Regions from separate parts of the Homo sapiens genome. Here regions 1, 3 and 4 are each linked to region 2. The links are contacts of gene promoters, found by promoter capture Hi-C in human tissues and cell types (Jung and others, 2019). All regions are on one chromosome and are shown on one strand. The core of a region is centred on a gene start or on the middle of the fragment in contact, and the rest is flanking DNA. Distances in the headings are between cores, read along the strand shown.

Evidence for each region. Contacts are between HindIII fragments. The study calls those that stand out against the background at their distance.
Region 1: a fragment that was not itself captured here is called in contact with the fragment with the promoter of RORB in region 2 in 3 of the 25 tissues and cell types used here (adrenal gland, aorta and mesenchymal stem cells).
Region 3: a fragment that was not itself captured here is called in contact with the fragment with the promoter of RORB in region 2 in 5 of the 25 tissues and cell types used here (aorta, dorsolateral prefrontal cortex, lymphoblastoid cells and 2 more).
Region 4: a fragment that was not itself captured here is called in contact with the fragment with the promoter of RORB in region 2 in 1 of the 25 tissues and cell types used here (dorsolateral prefrontal cortex).

The regions. Positions count from the first base shown.
Region 1 is chr9:74,440,222-74,443,044 of GRCh38, reverse strand. No RefSeq gene overlaps it. Among named protein-coding and RNA genes, the nearest start is that of RORB, 56 kb to the left of the region's middle. The HindIII fragment of the contact is 3,059 bases long and covers 1-2,823 here.
Region 2 is chr9:74,495,903-74,498,877 of GRCh38, reverse strand. It overlaps RORB (RAR related orphan receptor B), which reads right to left and starts at 1,543. Exons shown (of 10, transcript NM_006914.4): 1 at 895-1,543. The coding sequence starts at 901. RORB-AS1 (RORB antisense RNA 1) reads left to right here and starts at 325. Exons shown (of 5, transcript NR_125791.1): 1 at 325-636. RefSeq lists silencers at 1,311-1,605, 1,510-1,699, 1,695-1,907. The HindIII fragment of the contact is 7,823 bases long and covers 1-2,975 here.
Region 3 is chr9:74,457,511-74,460,226 of GRCh38, reverse strand. No RefSeq gene overlaps it. Among named protein-coding and RNA genes, the nearest start is that of RORB, 38 kb to the left of the region's middle. The HindIII fragment of the contact is 4,336 bases long and covers 1-2,716 here.
Region 4 is chr9:74,546,993-74,550,045 of GRCh38, reverse strand. The region is part of intron 1 of RORB (RAR related orphan receptor B); the gene reads right to left. Among named protein-coding and RNA genes, the nearest start is that of RORB-AS1, 50 kb to the right of the region's middle. The HindIII fragment of the contact is 5,181 bases long and covers 1-3,053 here.

The DNA of each region.
Region 1 (2,823 bases), core at 113-2,612, 56 kb after region 2:
TGTTTTCCTCCCCCACCTCGACGGAATTGCTTCAAAAAGATAACTAGTTAGAATACATATCATTACTATTTCTAATAGTAATATTATCATTATTTGGTTGTAAATATTTCAATAATCAAGAAACTTTCAATTAGGACTATTTTATTCATTTTTACATTCAAAATGACTAAAATTTTACATGCTCTATAATTATGTTTTATAAAATATAATAATCTTTATTGTTAATATATGAAATATAGATTTTTATGTACCAGTTTCCTTAAATCCCTGTTGAAAAATTCATGTATCTTCAATGACACATATTTCAAAAGCAGAGAACACCAGAAAAAGAAACGTAACAAAATCCTTTGCACCTAGAACTAGCAAATGCCAACTTTTGCCATATTATCTTTAAATTTTGCTCAACTTATCCCCAATGCAAACTGCTTTCTCCATCAAGTAACCACTGTCATGAAGTCGGCATGTGTCCTTCTTGACTGTGCTTTATATTTTGCTGTGTATTTGTGTGCTCATAATACTATACTACACTATTTTGTTTTTAAACAATGTAATTGATATTAGACAATATGCATAATTCTGCAACTTGCTTTATTGACTCAACACTGTTTTCAAGGAAAATCATAGCTGTTTTAGGAATGTATTCTGCTTGTTAAAATTAGAATTATACACATTTCAACTTCAACTAGACATTATCAAGATGCCTTCCGATGTAGGGGTTCCAAAATACACCTCTACTCACAGGCATGGAGAGCTCCCACTTTCCTACATCCTTGCCAATATTTCTTTCATCTGGCAAAAAGTTATATAATGCTTAAAAATGGGCACGTTCTGTTCTCAGAATTTTGAAAACACAAACTCATTTAATTCTCTTTACAATTCTGTGACAAAGTTGCTTTAATGTTCTCATTTTACTGATGAGAAACTGACATAGACAGATTAAATAACTTGCCATAGTGATATAACTAATAAAGGGCAGAGTTACTTTTGAAATCAGACAATACTTGTCATTTACATATTTTTATTTTTATTTCTTTTGCCTATCTTTTAGGTGATATAATTCATCTATCCAATTATTAGTGTGGTTGAACATCTTTTCAGTTACTGGAAGTTCAAATTGTCCCTTTCCTATAAATTATTTCTTGATATCATATGCCCATTTTTCTATCGAGTTATTTGCTTTTCTCTTGCTTATTTGTATGAGTTCTTTACATATACTTGCTACTAATTATCCCTTGTTGATCATATGTAATGAAAGTACCTTTGCTCAGTTTGTAGCTAGTCTTTTCGTTTTCCATAGACATTTTTTTGAAGATGCAGAGACAATGAGACAATGCTATTAATATTTTTTCATGTACTCTTTTGTGCTCTCTATAAGACAATCCTTTCCTAACTTGACCTCAAATAGATATTCTATATATTCTTCTAAAGCTTTAAGTTTTTAATTTGTTTTCAATATTTATAAAAAGAAATTTCATGTTGAGAGGTAACGTAACTTTATTTTCCATTTTGAAAATAAACTGTTACAATGAGTCTTATTAAAAACTCATTTGTCAGCCTTGGGCTTGTAATATCACCTCTGTCAAATGCCCAATTTTCATATAAGGATGCGTGTGTCAATTCTGCTTCACTGCCTTCTGTATCTATTTCTGCAGCAATACTACCATGTTTAAAAACCAAAGCCTTATAATGGTTTGAATATCTGGAAGGGTGGGTCTTTTGTCCTTGCCATTCCCTTTTCATTCAGATACTTTTCTTCTTAATTTTCTTTTGATCTAATATGCAGAGAGTACATTTGGAGTATATTTTTTAGAAAAGCATAGTCTAGGTTTTGTTTTGCTTTGGTTTTCTGTATCTTTATTGATGATTTATATTTATAGGATTGCCAGATTTAGAAAATAAAAATACAGGATGCCCAGTGAAATTTGAATTTCAGATAAACAACAAATAATTTTTAAATTTAAGCATGTATCAAATATTGTAGGGAACATGCTTTTACTAAAAATTTATTTATTTATCTGGAATTCATATTTAATTAGATGTCCTGTATTTTATCTGAAAATTCTATTTCAATTGTCTTGAAATGGAAATTAAGAAAACATGTCATTTGACAGCAAAGACATGAAATCAATAAAGAAAATGTGGTACGTATACTCCATGGAATATTATGCAGCTATAAAAAGAGTGAAATCATGTTCTTTATAGCAACATGGATGCAGCTTGAGGCTAGTATCCTAAGTAAGTTAATGCAAGAACAGAAAACCAAATACCACATGTTCTCACTTATAAGTGGGAACTAAACAATGGGTATTCATGGACATTGAGATTACAGCAGTAGACACTGGGGACTTACAGGGGAAGTGGAAAAGGTTGAAACTATTGGGTACAATGCCCAGTACCTGGTTGATGGGATCAGTTATATCCCAAACCTCAGCATCAAACAATATACCCAGGCAACAAACCTGCACATGCACCCCCTGAATCTAAAATAAAAGTTGAAATTATTAAAAAATAAATAAATAAAAAGGAAAGAAAGAAGAAAGAAAATGTGACCTGTATAATATTTATTCTTTGAACTTTGTTAAGACTTTCTTCATGTTTGTGTTTTGTAATTGTTCATATGTGTGTTTTTTTTCTTTTTTAATAGAGGCTGGGTCTTGAAATGTTGGCCATGTTGGTCTTGAACTCAGCCTCAAGCAATCTTCCCTCCCGGCTTCCCAAAGTGCTGGGATTACAGGCGTGAGCCACCACACCAGGCCTGTTCATATGTGTTTAAAAGGATATATTTTTTGCTTGTAGGCTGCAATGTGGATATACACTTATTAA
Region 2 (2,975 bases), core at 294-2,793:
GCGCGCATCCCTGCAGACCCCAGCTCGCCCCGGGGTCCCGCCGCCGCCGCCGCCACCGCCTGCGACTGCGAGGGTCCTGGCCCGAGGGTGCACCAGCACCTCCTTCCACTACCGGCCCTTTATCTGACAAAAGAGCCGGAGCCCATGACTCTCCGACTGTGAGCAGTGTGGCCTTTCCAAGCCTCCAGAACTTTCTCATTACAACTTTTCCGGGGTCGCACTACTCCCTGGGCCGCGCGGGCTCGGGCACGAGGACCTGGCCAGGGCGCAGCGCCGGCACGAAGGCGCGCGCCGCAGAACTGTTTCCTCAGCCGCGTGCCGGGGAACTAACTGTTTCCTCAGCCGCGTCCAGCCTCGCAGCACTGCTCTTCTGCTTGCTACTCCAGCGAAGGGACATGCCTGCTGGCCAGGACGCTTAGTGGGCCTCGTAACCTGGCGAGTGTGTGCCCGCGCGTGTCCACCCTGCCCCCGGCCGGTGCGCCCCGCGCGCCCAAACCCGGCCGGCGACCACTGCGCGCCGGGCGCTTCCAAACTGCTCCTGTCCAGAGGCATCCCTCTTTCGGCTTTCTCCATCCCGCGTCCGCTTCCGCACCCGAGAGCGACAAGCAAAAAAGATTCAGTGCAACTCAAGGACTGGTAAGAACCAACTAGCCTGTCTCCCCTCTCCAAAAAAGCGCCCTCCCGCGTCCCTCCAGAACTCCCGAAAGACATCAACACCTTCCCGCAACTTTCTACGCCCAGGCCATTTGCAGCCCCACCTGCGAGAGCGAATTCGGGGAACTGCGCCTGGGCAACCTCTTTCCCTTTCTGCTGGGTGCCCTCCCCTCCCCCATCTCCCCGTCTGGCTGGAGTTGGCCGGACTCGGGGAGCCTCGGTGCCCGCAGACTCGCTTACCTCGCATGGTGTGGCCGCTCTCCCGCTCCGCGTAGTCATGAAGCTGCTCCCAGCCCGAACCCCGGAGAGCCCAAAAATCCCGCTCAGCACGAGTGAAGAAGGTGGTCGGCGAAGAGCTGCTCTGCCGAGAAAACCATCCCTTTAGGCGGACGCCGTGGCTGCAGGGTGACGTTTGCCGCCGCCGCCGCTATGTTAACAGTTTTGATGTTGGTGGTGACTGTTTTGATGATTGTTTGTTTGTTTGTTTGTTTTCAGGAAGGGTGAAAAAAAAATGTTCTGGCTGTCTGGTGCCTGGGTTTTGTTTTGGTTTTGTTTTTCTTTTTCTTTCTCTCCAATGTGCTTGCTTTTTAAAAAATGCCACCGCCTCCGGCTCAGAAGATTTCTTTTGTGATCACTTGGACTGAGGAGGAGGAGGAAGGGCAGCAGCAGGAGGAGGAGTTGGTGGTGGTTTTGTTAGTTACAAAGAAGAGGGAGAAGGAACAAGGGGGAAAAAAGGAAACAGAAAGAAAAGAAAGAAAGGCGGTGTGGATGGCAGAGCATGTGCGTTTTCACATGACATCTGTGCCTGTTAGCGGATCCACAATGTGAATTTTCACTGTTCAGTTACAGGGAGGAAGGGAGCAGCGAGAGAGAAAGAGAGGGGAGAGATGGAGAGAGAGCGCTGAGAGGGGCTTATACGCGAGGGCGGGCTTGGCCGCGACTTCCAGGCCCCGCCTGCTGTCAGCGCAGCCGCCAATCAGAGCCCAGCAGCGCCTGGAGAGGCTGGGACCGCGGGGAGGGGACGTGGTGGAGGCGGGGGGTGGGGCGGGGGCTGGGGACCAGGGAGTCCGAGGTGGCCGGGGCTGCGACGGGGAATTCGAGACTGTCCGAACTGGGCAGAGAAGAAGGGCCGACCGGGAGAGTCGGGCAGATCCGCAGGTGACAGGCACTTCCGACTCCAGCAGAGAAGGGGACACTGATCACGGAAAACCTTCGGAGGCAAGAGACGCGGGGCTCCCCGGGTTTCACGTTCGGTCCCTGTCTCGCAACCCCCGCGGGCCCGGCAGAGTTAGTTTTGAATTTATGGCAGCGCTTTGCCGAGCGCTATTTGGGTAAACTTCGGTCTCCGGCGGGGGTTTCCGTGGGCAGGTGGTTTGGGTGTTGGTGGTAGAATAATGCAAACCCACTTTCATCACTTTTAGCACAACTAAAATGCAGTCCCATGGAAGTAGCTGTCCCCTTCCTTTAAAAACGTCCGTCAGATGCTCCCTGACCCTCTTCTAAAAAAAAAAAAAAAAGAAAGAAAGAAAGAAAAAAACGTGTATATGTTCTTTTGTCTGGGAAATTGATTTTTATTAGCATTTGGAGACTCCCCTGGCGATGGACTACAGGACTGAAGGAGAACAGCTCAAATTGGCGGTGTAGCCACCTTACTAATTCAAGAGAAATGGCTGTTGCTAGAAGGTGTGATTGCAGGGTGCTCTTTAGAAAGGTTTTAGAAGGAAGACATTGTTAACTTTAGTTAGAGGCGATTGGTAACTGAACATAGATAAACTTACTTGTATTCCTTAGGTGAAAATTGTCATCTATGACCATTTATTTGTATTTTGATAAAAATCTAATACATATATCCAAACTGTTCCTTTGCAAGTTTTTCCAACTCAGTTGACAAAATAAGCATATAGATGATTACATCTACTTCCTTCCCAATAGTAGGGAACTTCTTAAATACTTGAGTTAATTGAACACCCTAAAAGATTGGGAGGTGAAAATATTTGCCTCATTCACTCAGTCTTGAGGCTGGGAGATGTCTACTCATTAGCATACCTGTTGGCACAGCAGGCCTCATCATCATTTAAGTATCCAAATAATTTGATTTTTGACTGGTATTTATTCATGATATGTCATGTAACACAAAGTACAATGTAGAATTGGCAGTTATTTAGTTAATTAGGTCGCTCTACACTGCCAAGTAGTTTTTTCCTTCCTGATTAAATGAAAAATGAATTATCTGCTGAATTTTCACCAGTATTAAATTGACGTAGCCCTGCTATATGCCATCCCATTTGCAAACCAATGTGTAATTTAGGAAAATTTTAGTA
Region 3 (2,716 bases), core at 188-2,687, 39 kb after region 2:
TTGTTTTTCTGGTTGATGGAACAGGGTTATCCATCTAGATAGCTAAAGTTTTTACTAATATATCTGAAAAAGAGTTTTAAGATTTTTCATTTGAATTTTATGAGGATTCTTACAAAGAGGCAGTGTTTTGATTTGTTTAGTCTTTTAGAAGTTCTTGCATGACAGTCAAAAATACATTCCATTCTATTAGAGGTGTCCTGCATCCTTTCTTTTTTAATTTATTTTATTTTTTTATTTTTTATTTATTATTATTTTTTGAGATGGAGTCTCGCTCTGTTGCCCAGGCTGGAGTGCAGTGGCATGATCTTGGCTCACTGCAAGCTCCGCCTCCCGGGTTCACGTCATTCTCCTGCCTCAGCCTCCCAAGTAGCTGGGACTGCAGGTGCCCACCACCACGCTGGGCTAATTTTTTGTATTTTTACTAGAGACGGGGTTTCACTGTGTTAGCCAGGGTGGTCTCGATCTCCTGACCTCGTGATCCACCCGCCTCGGCCTCCCAAAGTGCTGGGATTACAGGCGTGAGCCACCGGGCCCTGCTGCATCCTTTCTTTTTTAAAGCGCCTCTCAAGTTAAAGCTTCCTCATTGTGGCCACCGTAATTCTAAGTCTTCCATAGTAAGGCTAACCATTTCCCCCAAAATACATGGTTTCTGAAATCATCTTTATTGTACATAAAAGTTGTCAGTGTCCCAGAAAAAAGAGTCCCAGACTTCTGAAGCACCAGACTCTTCAGATTTGGAGAAACCTACTTTCAAGGAGGAGGAACCTAGTTATTTATTAGATTGAATCCAATTGCAAATTCTGTTCTGTAAAAGAATTGTTCAAATAAAGTCTGGAGCTCAAAATGCAGATTTGCAGACCTTTGATCTGAGAGGAAACTCATCCTTGACTTCCAATTTAGGCAAGAAAGCAATGCGCCCAGTGGTTTCAGTGGGTAGCTTTGCTCAGTCACTTCGTGCTGTAATGCCAAACTGTTAAAAGAAAAACTTTAGAGAAATTAAATTTAATAGCGTTTATTTGGGCAAAGAATGATTCATGATTGGGCAGCACTCAGAACCAGAAGAGGATCAGAGTTCTGCCCAGCAGCATGAGCAGTAAGCTTTTATAGGCTGAGCAGGGAAGCAAAGTAGAGAAATCACCTGATGGACTAGCTAAGCATTTGCTTCTTAGGCACGCTGTGATGAGGCATTTGTCTTATTTAGGCACAGTCTGATTAGTTGGCTGCCTGTGATTGACTGAGGCTCAGCTGTTTGTGATTGGCTGAAACCTGGCTATTTCTTACAAAAAAATGCTACTAAATTACGTTGTGCTTTTTAGTGTAGGAACTCAAATTAAAGAGACAGCGTCAGGCTGATGGCCTCCTGCTTGTTTTATTTAACATTGGCATATATTTAGGAGTGTTATTGCTAGTCATGGTATGTTAAGTTTAACCTTTACATATATTGCCAAACAATTTTTCTGAGTGACTGTATCAATTTAATCACTATCATCCTTTTATGATAGTTCCCAGTGCTGCTCCTCAATAGCATGTGGCATTGTCAGTCTTCTTAACTTTAGTTCTTTGGTGGCTGTGTACTTCATCTTTTTGTGGCTTTAATTTGCATTTCCCTATAACTAATAAAGTTAAGCACCCTTACAAATGTTTACAGACCATTTTTATATAATAAGAGGGTTTTTTTTCTTTCTTTTTGTAAAGTGCTTCTTCATGTCTTTCTTTCCTCCCTTTTGGCTGTTTGTCTATTACTGAATGATTTGTAGTTCTTTATATATTGTGGATACAAACGTTTTCTTGGGTATGTGTGCTGCAAATATCTTCTCTTATTGCCTATTTACTTTTTTGTTACTTTTGATAACCAGAAGTTCATTGTCTTAATAGGGTCCGATTTAACATGTTTTTCTTTAAATATAGGGATTATTGTGTCATTTTAAAAGAACCTTTGCTCATATCAAGATCATGAAGCTATTATCTTCTAGATGCTTTATTGTTTATCTTTTACTTTTAATTCTACTATTCACTTGAAATTGATTTTTGCATATAGTCAGAAGTTGGGGTCAAGTTTCTTTTTTTCCCCATACGTCTATCTCACTGACTCAGCACCATTTATTGAAAAGACTGTACTTTTCAGCCAGGCGCGGTGGCTCACGCCTGTAACCCCAGCACTTTGGGAGGCTGAGGGGGGCAGATCAAGAGGTCAGGAGTTCAAGACCAGCCTGGCCAACATGGTGAAACCCTGCCTGTACTAAAAATACAAAAATTAGCTGAGCATGGTGGCACGCTTCTGTAATCCCAGCTACTTGGGAGGCTGAGGCAAGAGAATTGCTTGAACCCACGAGGCAGAGGTTGCAGGGAGCCGACACTGCGCTACTGCACTCCAGCCTGCGTGACAAAACAAGACTCCATCCCCCGCCCCCCGCCCCCACAAAAAGAGAGAAAAGACTGTACTTTTCTGTCACTCTTCAGTACCACTTTTATCATAATTCAAGAGTTCATGTATGTGTGGATCTGTTTCTGGACTATATTTTCTATTTCATTATTAATTTAGCTACCCTTGGACAAATTCCACATGGTCTCTATTACTGTATCTTCAAAAGTAAGTCAAAGTCTGGTACAAAAATACTTACTCTTTTTTTCTTCTTTTCCAATTTTGACTTACCTGGTTTTAGCTTCTTATATTTACAAAGAAATCTTAGGATTCATTTGTCAATTTCCACATACA
Region 4 (3,053 bases), core at 105-2,604, 51 kb before region 2:
ATTAGAAATACACATAATCGGCCGGGCGCAGGGGCTCATGCCTGTAATCCTACTTTGGGAGGCTGAGGCAGGCAGATCACCTGAGGTCAGGAGTTCGCGACCAGCCTGGCCAACATGGTGAAACCCCGTCTCTACTAAAAATGCAAAAGATTAGCCGGGCGTAGTGGCACACACCTGTAATCCCAACTACTCGGGAGGCTAAGACAGGAGAATCGCTTGAACCCGGGAGGCGGAGGGTCGCAGTGAGCCCAGATCGCGCCACTGCACTCCAGCCTGGGTGACAGAGCAAAATTCCGTCTCAAACACACACACATAATCCTACAAGCAGTCAAAAAATACAGTTAATCCTACAAGCAGTCAAAAAATACAGATAATCCTACAAGCAGTCTCTTCTCTCTTTCTTTCTTTCTTTCCTTTCTTCCTTCCTTCCTTCCTTTCTTCCTTCCTTCCTTCCTTCCTTCCTTCCTTCCTTCCTTCCTTCCTTCCTTCCTTCCTTCCCTCCCTCCCTCCCTCCCTCCCTCCCTCCCTTCTTTCCCTTTCTTTCTTTCTCTCTCTCTCTCCCTCCCTACCTCTCTCTCTCTCTCTTTCTTCTTTTTTTTTTTTTGACGGAATTTTGCTCTGTTGCCCAGGCTGGAGTGCGGTGATGCGACCTCGGCTCACTGCAACCTCCGCCTCCTGGGTTCAAGCGATTCCCCTGCCTCAGCCTCCTGAGTAGCTGGGATTACAGGCGCCTGCTCCCATGCCCAGCTAATTTTTGTATTTTTAGTAGAGACGGTTTCACCGTGTTAGCCAGGCTGGTCTCAAACTCCTGACCTCAGGTGATCCGCCCGCCTCAGCCTCCCAAAGTGTTGGGATTACAGGCGTGAGCCACTGCAGCCGGCTGACAAGCAGTCTTAAACAATGTGGCTGAGAATATAAACAGGTACAACTTTCACAGAAAGCAACTGAGCAGTACGCATATTTCAAAAGTTTTTAAACACAGATACCATTTGATGCAATATCGCATTTTCATGTGGTCAAAGATTTAAATAAAGGATTGAAAATTTAAATAAAAGATTGAAATAGCATTATTTTTAATATATTTTATTTAAAAGAACATAAATATCCAATAATGATGCAATTATTAAACACATAAGAGGTATTATCCATATTACGGATCACCATGAAAGTTCATGAAAAATAACTGAAACCATAAAAAAATCCTTAGAATATTTTCAATGAAAAGAGTAGAATACTAAATTTGTTTACGGTATTATGTATAGAAAATAAGGCTGGAAGAGAATTCACTGACATATTTTAACATGTTTATTTTTTCTTTATGTTTCTGCATTTTCCACATTCTCTGCAATGACCAGTTATTACTTTCGAAGTTCACACTGCTCTCAGGGTAGCTGCACCGAGCCACTCTAGGGAGCAAGAAGCCACAACATAAACAAAGTTGTGCAGTGTGCTGTTTGTGCAGCAAACCTAGATTATGCTGTAAATCCACTTATTCTGAAAAAGTAAATTGCAAAATAAGAAACACTAAAAAGAATTAATCTGGACAAGAAGTAGTGAATTCCATGGGATAAAGAAAATATTTTCTAACCAGAAAGCTCATTTCCAGTGTAGGGTTTGTCCCTGCATTATTTTGAAATTATAGTTTTCTCATACTTCTCAACCAGCAGAAACTGCTGCTTCAGAGAAGCTGAAGTTGTGAAGATCTTTCCAAATATAAAAAAATACCTAATTTATAATCTCAATAAAGCCAATGCCACTCAATGAAAAAAAGATAATTTCTAGGATAAGAGAAGGTGATCATAAGAGAAGCTACAATACTAACAGCTAACTCACACTCATTAGCTCCTGATCTGCCCCGCCCTCACCCTCTCCCCACACGGTCATGCCGTTATGGGTAACGTTATGACCTGGCTGCTCTTGCTAAAAAACATGGGGAGTCATTTTTTGAGTGCTTTCTCACACTCCATATTTAATCCATCAGCAACCTATTTGTTCTTTCTTTAAAAACTATATTGAAAACTCAACATTAAAAACAATTTAAACCATTTTCAGAGCTACATTTCTGGTCTAAGTCACTCTAATTTCTAGCCTGGATTATTACAGTAGCCTGGTAGTTGGTCTTCCTGGTTTCTTACTTGCCTCCTTTCAGCCTATTTTCTGCAGCCAGGATTTTTAAAAAACATGTCAGATAATATCACTCTCCATTCTACCCTTGAATGAATTCCTATTTTACTTAACATAAAAATAAATTCTTTACAATGTTGTACAACATCTTATGTAATCATGGGTCATAGGAGTCACTGTCTCTCCTCCCCTTATTAATTCTGTGACCTCATCTTCTCACACACTGCTGTTCTTTTAACATATTGGGTGGTCTCCTACCTCAGGGCCTTTGCACAGGCTATTCCTCTTGCTTGGGGTGCTGTTAAGCAGATATCCACATCCCTTACTCCCTTACCAACTTCAGATCTGGGTACAAATATCATCATTTTAGTGAGGCCTCCCTGACAACTCTATTTAAAATTGCAAGCCTCTTGGGTTTACTATTAGAATTTCCCAAATTGGCTGTGATAAACCTCCAATTTTGGTTCCCCAATCCTAACTCTATCTCCTTCAATATTGGTAGAAGGTCTTCGGTCCTTGCTTAACTGACAGATTTTTAATCATCACCTATTTTCCCTCTTCTCTAGCTCTAAATCTTAGTAGGCTTTACCCATCCTTCTTCCTTTCATCCTTCTTCCCTCCAAGTTCAAACCACCACCTTATTTAAAGCCAGGTTCCTGACACCTCAGATCCCATCTCTTCCATTCTTGCTCTGTGCCATGCTTCATCAATGATCTCTCTCATACATATTTTCTTATAGTTTTAATTCTCTCCAGCAACCTACACACATACTTGGGTCTCTCCTCTGATAACAAAAAAAACCAAAACAATCCAACAATTTATTTTTTTGAGATGGAGTCTCTCTCTGTCACCCAGGCTGGAGTGTGGTGGTGTGACCTCGGCTCACTGCAGCCTCTGCCTCCTGAGTTCAAGAGATTCTCCTGCCTCAG